3 separate regions of the Homo sapiens genome follow, and regions 2 and 3 are each linked to region 1. The links are contacts of gene promoters, found by promoter capture Hi-C in human tissues and cell types (Jung and others, 2019). All regions are on one chromosome and are shown on one strand. Each heading gives the region's core, a stretch centred on a gene start or on the middle of the fragment in contact. The rest is flanking DNA. Distances are from core to core; before and after follow the strand shown.

What was found. The method cuts DNA at HindIII sites, captures the fragments that hold promoters and counts their contacts. A contact is called where the count stands out against the background at its distance.
Region 2: a contact is called between a fragment that was not itself captured here and the fragment with the promoter of LRRC30 in region 1, in 2 of the 25 tissues and cell types used here (dorsolateral prefrontal cortex and lymphoblastoid cells).
Region 3: a fragment that was not itself captured here is called in contact with the fragment with the promoter of LRRC30 in region 1 in 1 of the 25 tissues and cell types used here (H1 embryonic stem cells).

The regions. Positions count from the first base shown.
Region 1 is chr18:7,229,310-7,232,660 of GRCh38, reverse strand. LRRC30 (leucine rich repeat containing 30) reads right to left here and starts at 1,572. Exons shown (of 1, transcript NM_001105581.3): 1 at 617-1,572. The coding sequence starts at 1,522. The coding sequence ends at 617. The HindIII fragment of the contact is 10,232 bases long and covers 1-3,351 here.
Region 2 is chr18:8,079,121-8,082,471 of GRCh38, reverse strand. The region is part of intron 9 of PTPRM (protein tyrosine phosphatase receptor type M); the gene reads right to left. Among named protein-coding and RNA genes, the nearest start is that of PTPRM, 510 kb to the right of the region's middle. The HindIII fragment of the contact is 3,817 bases long and covers 1-3,351 here.
Region 3 is chr18:7,785,365-7,788,715 of GRCh38, reverse strand. All of the region lies in intron 2 of PTPRM (protein tyrosine phosphatase receptor type M), which reads right to left. Among named protein-coding and RNA genes, the nearest start is that of PTPRM, 220 kb to the right of the region's middle. The HindIII fragment of the contact is 4,887 bases long and covers 1-3,351 here.

The DNA.
Region 1 (3,351 bases), core at 323-2,822:
TTATTCCTCTGTAGCCGCATGAAAGAAAAATTTCCTATGATTGTCCCCCAGAACTCAAGGCGAAAACTCTGCCTCTTTTGGTCACTGGGGACAGAGCCCACTGTGGTTTGCCTTTTGGTCCCAAGTAATGTTTCACAGAGGCTGATGGAGGAACGTGTCTTGCCGTTGCCACCTGGCCACAGGTTGCTGATTCAAGGGCAGAAACTATCTGAAACCAGGTTTCAGCACCTCATACTGTACTTGGCACACAGTACTTAGCAAATATTTGCCTTTTGAATTACATTGAATTCAGACCTGTTAGGTGTCCACTCTCCCAAGGGCTGAATCTCACTGCTCCTCAGAAGAATCAGAACTGTTAGTTCTCTTTGGGGAAAACCAACCCCCTGTTTCAATTTATGTTTAGGATGAGATGAACATGATATTCCAGAGGTTATTAAGAACATACAGAGTTAAAAACAATCACCTCCTTAACGTGGATGTTCAACAGCGACTTAGCAAATATTAACAAAGGTATTGTCAGACACTAAGGATGAGAGTAGAAAGCTGAGACGAGAGAAGTACCCCGGTTGACAGAGTCCAGATGAGCTGCCTCCCATCCAGGCCTCCGGGACCCAGGTCAGGTGTGTTTTTTGTCCTTCAGGTAGCCGAAGAGCATCTCCAGGCCCCCCTCCACCAGCTCCGGCAGAGGCTTGGATAAAGGGTTGTGGGAAATGTGGAGCCCTTTGTCCATGGGATTCCAGGCGATCCTCACCAGTCTACACAGCAGGTGGAGTTCGCTCGGGAGGGTCTGGATGTCATTGTTGTTGAGGTTCAGCAGCTCCAGGCTGGTGACCAGGCAAAGCGACCTCGGGAAGGAGTGGATGTTGTTGCCCTCTGCGATGAAGATCTGCAGGCTGGCCAGGTGCTGGATGCTCTCAGCGATGTTTTCCAGGCGATTCGAGCCCACGTGCAAGAAAATCAGTTCCTTCAGGGAGAACACACACATGGGGATGTGCGCGAAGAAGTTGTTGCTGAGGTTTAGCTTCCTCAGTCTAGAGAGGTCGGCGAAGCATGCAGGGAGCTGGGACAGGCAGTTGTGCGACAAGCTCAGGACCTCCAGCTTTCGGCACAAGCTCAGCTCGGCCGGCACCTCTGTCAGGCAGTTCATGTTGACAAACAGGACCTTGAGGCACTGTAGGAGGCTCACTTCTCTGGGCAGGCTCTTCAGGCGGTTCCCGCACAAGTTCAGGACCACGATCCGGGTCAGTTTCCCCACCTCGGGAGGGAGAACCCGGAGCTGGTTGTGAGACAGATTGAGTTTCTGGACCTCGGACAAGCCCCACAGAAAGTCGGGGATGTCTGTCATTCCTCTCGTGACCAGGCTGAAGCTGACGTGGTGCATGCCCCGCTTCAGCAGGGACCGCGGGTCCCTTCCCGAGAGCAGGGCATCGTCCCACGGAGAAAACTTCTGTCTCCTCCCCGTGAACAGCATCCTCTTGGGGCCCTTATCCTTGGAGCTGGCCCTTGACTGCCTGGCCCCCATTGTACCTTCCCTTCTAGTCACTCTCCTCTGCCACCTCCCAGGCAGGGACCGTGTCCTCTCAGCTGCTAAAAGCCAGGCTGTTGCAGGCAGGGAGTGTGCGTCAGGGTGAGAACCAACTTGTGACTAGGAGGTCCTAGTGTGGAGAAAGCTGCCAGGAGAGTCTTGATCAGGCCTTGCAGGTATCTGAGACAGGTCCCTGGGTGGCTGCAGGAGCTGTGCCTGTTCCCCAGGGTTTAGGTGTTTTCTTTCTTAGCAGCTGGGCTGTAATGATATACTTGTCCAGGAGGCTGCTAAACTGCTCAAATCCCTCTGAATGCCACAAGGCAGCTGTCACTGTCACTCTGCCTGAGTTTTATTGACTGGGTACATGCAAACAGGTCACAGGAAGGCTGCATATAACTTTACTCTCTCAGCTTTTCTTGGGTATCACAGTTGAGCAGGGTGATTAACAAGCCCATCTCTAAAAAGAAGTAAAATGGAAAAACAGAGCAGGCCACACAAGTACGGACTGTTGGCAGGATTGCGGGAGCTCAGCCAGACAACTTTACAGTGAAACTGGGCTGGGTGCTAGTGACAGTTATGTCTCCAAAGCTAAAGATCATCAGATGATATCATAGGTCCCTGTTCCAAACCTTGATGAACTGTGCGTTTGTGAAAAGATAACAAAAGCAGCCCGGATACCTGGAATCTTCCAGGTCAAAGGTTTTTATCCTGTGCTTGTCAGAGGTGATTTAGTGAGAAGGGAGTTGTGGGGGGATCTCAACCCCTCACTCCCATTTCATCCAGAGAAGCTCTGGGCTCATGTGTCTTACAGAGACCTTCTGTATTTAGTAGGATGCACTTTAAGTGTTTGAACAGTCACTTGAGTGGCCACCTTAGTATGGTAAGCGCGGGCCACCTATTGTCCTGGAAGGATATGATGAGGCCCCCCTCGCTACACACCGTTCTCTTTCTCTCTCTCTCTCTTCTCCTCCCTGTCTTTTATTTATTTTTATTTATTTATTTATTTATTTTTCTTTTATTTTTGATGGAGTTTTTGCTCTTGTCGTCCAAGCTGGAGTGCAGTGGCACGATCTCGGCTCACTGGAACCTCTGCCTCCCGGGTTCAAGTGATTCTCCTGCTTCAGCCTCCCAAGCAGCTGGGATTACAGGCACCCACCACCATATCCAGCTAATTTTTGTATTTTTAGTAGAGACGGGGTTTCACCATGTTTGCCAGGATGGTCTTGACCTCCTGATCAAGGCGGGTGGACCTGCCTCGGCCTCCCTGTCTTTTTCTTGAATTAAAAAAGTTAACTTACATCTTAAGTTTGCAGAGTTAATTGTTGGTGTTATGGGCTGAACTGTGTCCCCTCACCCTGCCCTCAAATTTCGTATGCTGAAATTGTAACCCCCAGTATCTCAGAAGGCGCTGGGTTTGGCAATCAGGCCAAGTGAAGACACAGGGAGAAGGCAGCCACCTGCGAGCCAAGGAGAGAGGCCTCAGAAGAAACCAACACCTTGATCTCAGGCTTCCAGTCTCCAGAATTGTGAGAAAAATACATTTCTGTTGGTTAAGCCACCCAGTTTCTTAGAGCAGGTCTGGCAAACTAATATAGTTGGGGAGGAGGCGGACACACATCTGCATAGGTGAAAAATCCTAAAAATAGGTAGTGATTAAGGGGACAAGGGATATCAAGGAGCTGACCTAGGTTCTGAGCAAAGGGCTTGTGGCCCGTGGCAAGGGCTGGTTTGGCCTGGAAGGGTGAGATTTTTGCTGCTATATATCCTGGAGACCCCTGCTGCTCCTGGGACCCTGACCTCACAGGGCTGTTGCTACCAACCCAAGA
Region 2 (3,351 bases), core at 383-2,882, 850 kb before region 1:
GGGTTGGTTTCCAAAGATGAGACTGGGACAAAAAAAGTACCCATCCATGTCCCAATCCAGAGTTCTCATTCTGTGTATCTGTAAAGCCTTCCTAAACCTGGCCTAACAATCACTAGATCCACTGAATGCCTGTGTTGTGACTATTCATACAATTCACTGGGCAATGAATCTTGGAGTACTGTGAAATCTCTTCTTTGATCTTAAATCATGATTTAAATATACCAGAGGAATTGGAACATTTCATGTAATTGTATCTTCTTTCTGAGGAGTGACTGATGTCTTATTCTTTTCCTGATCCCACTGTGATCAGTAAATATTTGGCACTCAGTATCTATTTTCCTAAAACTACTCCTGGGGAGAGCGGGTGTGTGCATCCGCTCATGTAAACACTCAAGACAAGTGGGATCTTTGCTCCACCCACAGAGACTATCAAGCAAACGCTTTACTAAGGGACTTGTTGTTCCAGCAGGGCTGATGGGCTTGGACTTGCTGAAAGCCTTGTGGCTGCAAAATAACACTGGGGTTCTTAGCTGGCTTCCAGTCATAGCCCTTTGACAATTTGGTAAAAATTAGACACCTTCTCTTTCCTACTTCTAAAAAACACATGTATACACTAATTCATGCACTCCTAAAAATTACAGATCCTCTCCCTCACGCCTAACAAACAAATATGTTGGGCATGTATATGTCCACCAAATGTCACAAAGGTGATGGGTTTCCCCATCTCAGACCCATCCACAGAGCCCTGGAGTCTGAATATCAGAATGAGAAAAGCTTCTCGGCAGCAGGGGCACTCTAACTCTACAACCCCACTGCCTGCCACAGAGCTGATGGTAGACATTCACCAACCTCAGCAGCTGCTCTAAAGGGCACCAAAATATACTCCCATGCTCAAACTCAAATGTCCATATGGTTTCAGCTTTACTTTTCCACTTGTTCATTCAATACATGCTTATTAAGTGCCTGTTAAGTACTTCAGTACAGCAGCAAACTACAAGAAGGAAGTCTGGAAGCTTCTGTACTTGTACTCTGTCCCTGGCTGAAGGTCCAGGAAACTGTAATGAAGCCTCTGTAAAAAACGTTGCTGCAGCAGTGTTGGATGTAAGTAATTTTATGGGAGGTGCCATGTCAAAAGCAAACTGAGATCTCAACATCATGTGTGAGGGTTAGATTTGGGTGAGATGGAGTAAACTGTTGCTTCTATTGGATGATTTCTGATTTGCAGGTAAGTGCCTGAAATCTTCCAAAATTGTCTTCCCTTTCTCTACTTAAAGCCTCAAATTCTAAACTGAGAGATTCATGGGAAACCAAGATAGAATAACATGCAATCTTTGACTTGCATGTTATAGAAGAGGGGAATCAAAATCTTCTAGACTGTGAGTTGATGGTAATTCCAGCCAGCATAAAACACCATCCTCTAATTGAGGTTTAAGCAATTATTCTGAGAAAACAAAGGAATGAATAATTAAATCTGATTTTAGGGGAGGAAAGGACCTAGGATATTTCAAGGAAAAGTAAAGTACTTGAATAAAATACTGAAAGATAGGCAGAGCTGCTATAGGAGGAGAGCGATGGGATGGCACAGGCAGAATGAATCTAAGCAAAAGCAGGGTGTGTGATGGCTCAGAAGGCTCTTGGCGAAGAGACAATTTCATATACATGGCTCATTGAGTTCCAGAAGAAAAATAGTAGGAGATGGCGTTATAAATATAGATTTGGGTTGGATCACAGAAGCCCTTGAGTATTGAAAACAAACTTCTTAACATGGCCCCTAAATTCTCATTCCCTCTACATAACCACCTATCTCAGCTGATGGTGACTAACAGCCCAGTTATCCAGGCTAAGGATATTAAGGTGTCTTCAACTCTAGACTCTTGAATGTCCCAATCAGCTGGCAAATCTAGACCATTCTACTTGATTAAAGTGCCCAACCAAAACTGCACTTGATACTCTAGTCACACACTCATGTATTGAGTCCCTAAGTTTGGAACTCATTTCATTCTTTCTATAGTTGGTTGCTGATGGGGTAGTTACTTCAACAGAAAAGGAACAGTACCTTTTCTACTTTTGTCTTTTTCCAATATCTCAGACATACTAAAGCTTTTAAAACAATCCATGTGTTAGTCTCATGACCAGGAGTCTGGTATTTACTCACTAGAGATATGTAAAGTTAGTAGGATACAATGAAAATACTTGGGCAAATATCCTTGTACATTGGGGAGTATTACTAATAAACTTCTAGAAATAGGTTTGGCATACTATGTTTACATTTTGATAGAATCTCCCTAATTGCCTACAAAAAAAAAGACTGCAAAATGTGTGTTCCCATCAACAGACTATGCATGTACACATTTCTCCACATCACTGATTAACACTTGATATTATAGAAATTTAAACTTCTGTATCACTTGTAATACTCCATTTCTCAATCATTAGTAAGGCTGGGTAGGTACTTTACCATATACTTACATGCTGGGTGAATTTTTTTTTGAAGTGTCTTTGTCCATTTTATTTCCTAAAAGAGTGTTTTGTTTTTTTCTTATTACTACGTAGCAGGTCTCTATATATTATAGCCACCAGCCTGTTGACTGCTGTAAGTGCTGAAAATAATCTCTCCAAGTCTTCTGTTTGTACTCAGACCTCCTTCATGGTATCTTTCATCATTCAGAAGTTTAAAATTTTATATAACCAAATCTGTCAATCTTTATTTTTAATGACTGCTGAGTTTTATATCAAGCTTAGAAAAATATATAACAAAAATGTCTTCCTACCTTTTTCTTAGAAGGTTCTTCTAAACTTTTGTGTTTAGATCATGAATCTGGTGTTTATTTTTGTATGATGTGAGGTGGGAGTCTCATATGGTATTTTATTCTTGTAATAAAATGCTGGGTTTGATAATATTTATTAAACTGCATCCATTTTATATTCATTAATGAATTTGCACTACAGTTTCTACCTTGTAAAATTTTAGAAGGATGTGTATCTAGCTGTTAATAGTAGTTACATTTGAAAAGTAAAATTCGGAAGCAAGGATATTTTATTTTGAATACTTCTGCACTTACAAGTATTCTTTCAGAGGGCAGTATTAAATTGACAACTCGACAAAATAAGAGATTTTGATAGCTACTGAGTAAAGGTGTAATGATCAGACCCAGGTTGTAGGAAGATGATTGACAAAATTAAATGACTGAGGTGGAGGGTAACGTACGAGAAGGACTTGAGCCAGAACGAAGACAAGGTCAGAGAGGCAAGGCTAGTGCTGGAAGGCTGAGAATGGAGTCAGAGGAGTGAAAAGGAGAAAGCAAGGAAGAAAACCAGAAGAATGATGTAAGGCTGTGAACTGCCATAACT
Region 3 (3,351 bases), core at 465-2,964, 560 kb before region 1:
AGGCATGTGACTATTCACCTATGGGATTTGCTATCCATGCACATGAAATTTCCATTAAGCACAATTTTCAAGTCTTTCAAAACATGTTTAGCCACCTTTGTATCATTTTGTCACTACACACTTCATAAAAGGGGTTGGAATTATTTCATCATTACAATATATATGACAATTTCACCGTTAAAACTCCCAGAAGCAGCACTACTGATGGAACTTAGATAAGCTCACTCATATATGTTTTAATATTTCACTTTCTCCAACCCTCTACCATCCAGAAAGCCTACACCTAATTCTAAGTATATGAATACTACTCATACTTTCATATTTTTCCAAAGCAAAATATTTCATAATCTCAACCTTCATAGAATTAATATTTACAGTTATGTGGCTTCATACAATATAATTTTATGTGCATTATTTCATTTGATAGCCTAGTAAAATAGGCATTTATTAGTATAAAGAGGGACTACTTCTCAAAAACAGGAATGAATTATTTATATTGACTTTATTCAAAAAGAAAAAGAAAACCCTAACACTCAGGGATAGTCTTTTGCAATGCTTCCAAAATCTTTTTCCCTTCTTTCTTTTCCTTCTCAACTTCTCTGAGCCTGTAACTGTAACTTATCGAGGTATGCTCATCACTTAGCATGGCCTAGGTCAGTCGTTTTCAAAGTATCTGCCAGAGACCCCTGAAATCCCTGAGACCCTTTCAGGGAGGCCACAAGGTCAAAACTATTTTCATGATCATAAGAAGACATTATTTGACTTTATTATTCTCAGTTCACGCTCAACTCTCACAGGTCTACACCACTGCTCTCATGCCCAATGGAAGAGATGTTTATGGACTCTTGTGTTTTCAAACTTTCTCAGTTTTAATTTCTAATTCAGAAAATAGAAGTAGATATTACCCACTTGAACAAAAGCTCTGCGGATTTTTCAAAACATTTACAGAGTATAAAGGAGTCCTAAGACCAAAGAGTTAGAGAACCATTCAACAACTCCAAAATCTCAGTGGCATATACAACACAGCTTATTTCTCATTCAGGCACACACCCACTGCAGTCATCTGAGTGTGTGTGAATGTGTGAGGGGCAAGGGAAGGCATTTCTACATCTTCCTCACTCAGGCATCTGGGCTAAAAGCGTCTCAATGCTGCCACAGTCACCATGACAGGAAGAAGGGGAGAGAACACCTTGACTCTCATCCTGGTTCTAGCAGCTTCTGCCTGAAAATAGCACATGTCACTTTCACTCACACTCACCAGCCAAAGCATGTGCAGTAACATCTAAGTCAAATGCAACAGAGATGCCCAATGTTCCCATGTTTCTAGCAGGTGAAAGCTGGAAGCAGTCATTCAACAACGCTGACAACCACAGGGGCTATCTCTTATGACAGTTCATCTCTTCCCAGCATTTTTTCCAGAACTTAATCATCCTCCTGACTCTTCATGGGGTCTAACACCAAACACATTTCAGGCAACATGGGGAGAGATACTATTTAAATATGACACATGCAAGATCACTTATGTAAATTGGGTTTTCTCAAAACCATTGAGAAATATCAAGTGTGGAGAAAATACATTATGGTGAATGCTTCCCAAAGCTAGTATATAATGCTATTGTATCAAGTGGGCCCTCTAAAAGTCTTTGTTTGACTGATGTATAAAACCAATTATTTGTAATAATTTGTGCCATCAACAAATGTCCAACACCTTTTTATAAGAGCAAGACTCAGATCAATTCAAATAAATTAACATTTCTGTCTGAACTGACTCATCCAGCCCAAGTAACAAATTCACATGTCAGTGGTGGGTTGACCCAATGACCCATCTGCTAAAAAATACAAACTGTATCATTTTGTTTTCCAAATAACAAGCATTGATTGCAGTGTTAGAAAGGTCACTTGTCATCAGTTCAGTGGTTGACCTACTGGCAAATTGCAGCCTGTCACTCCACAGTAAGCCAGGACAATCAGGAACTAAGGGATGTTTTGTTTACAGAGTACAATTAGGGAGGTGACACCATTTTCACAAGGTGTGTAATAGGATGCGTCTTCAACAGAGAAAAAAGATGTGTCATGAGAAGGCATATGATGGTTTTCATAATTTCCCAAGATGACTACCAGAAACCTCATTTATTTATACTTACTTTGAAAAGCACTGGATCAAACCTAGTCTGCACCTTCAAGTTTTATGCCAAGGATTTCAATTTTTTATGCATTTTCTATGGGTAACAGAATAAATATAAAAGATACCTCTTTCAAGGAAAGATACAAAGCAAGGAAATATACAATTAAGAAACAACCACATATTAGAGGACTCAAAGCATACAAATAAGGACTGGTCATTTGAAAAACAAATTTCCAGTGACACCCTCTCTAAAAGTGCCACTATATTAATATGCTACCCCACATATCCAATTAGACACTTACTAATGCTGCATAATCAGTTGTTTCAATTTGTCCACCCACCAGACAGAGGCATTACAATTGTCCGGCAGACAATTAATTAAATAGCTATATTTATTTCTCTTTCGACCACTTAAGCTTTTACATATTGCTTTAAGATATAATTCATCACAATCTCCTAGAATAAAGTATCAGTTAACTATGCATTAAAGTCCACTTATTTAAAATAATGATCTGCACAATCATCTAGTGGAGTCTGCCAAGAAATTCTGTATGATTTTTTCTGTATTCAGTCCCATATTATGGATAGGATACAAATGAATGCAAGCATGTATCCAAAAATAAAATGTAATAATTCCTTATGCATTTTCCAACAAAGTTAACCACCAAAATATCTACCAATAGGATAAGAATCTTTATATTTGAGACACCCACTGAGGCATAAAACCATGTGAAGCATTTGTCCTATTTAAGAAAGTCCTAAAATTACACACTTTAAGTTAGTGGCTCCAAATCGGTATTACATAAGTCCATCAGCTCTACTAAACCTCTCCAGTAATGACCAATGATCATCACGATATGCTCAGAAAGTGCAGACGTGGCTCAACCTGGGTTTTGTAAATAAACACTTTCAATGCAATTTGATGGAATAGCATTTTGCCTAAAATGTACCAATGGAGAAAAACTGTGTTGGCATGACACGAAGTCGGTGTACCTCAATTAATGTCTCTTGTAGCCCCACATTTATACTGCAAATTTTGCTTAGCTTCAAAAGTACAGAAAAATTAAGTAATAAACGCACACTTCCCTTAGACTCAACATTTGTTAACATCTTACCATATCTGCACACATGCGCGCTCTCTCTCTCTCTCAACATACACACACACTTTTTTCTGCAAAGATATCCTAACACTTATATCTTTTAACACTTCAGCATGAATCTCCTAA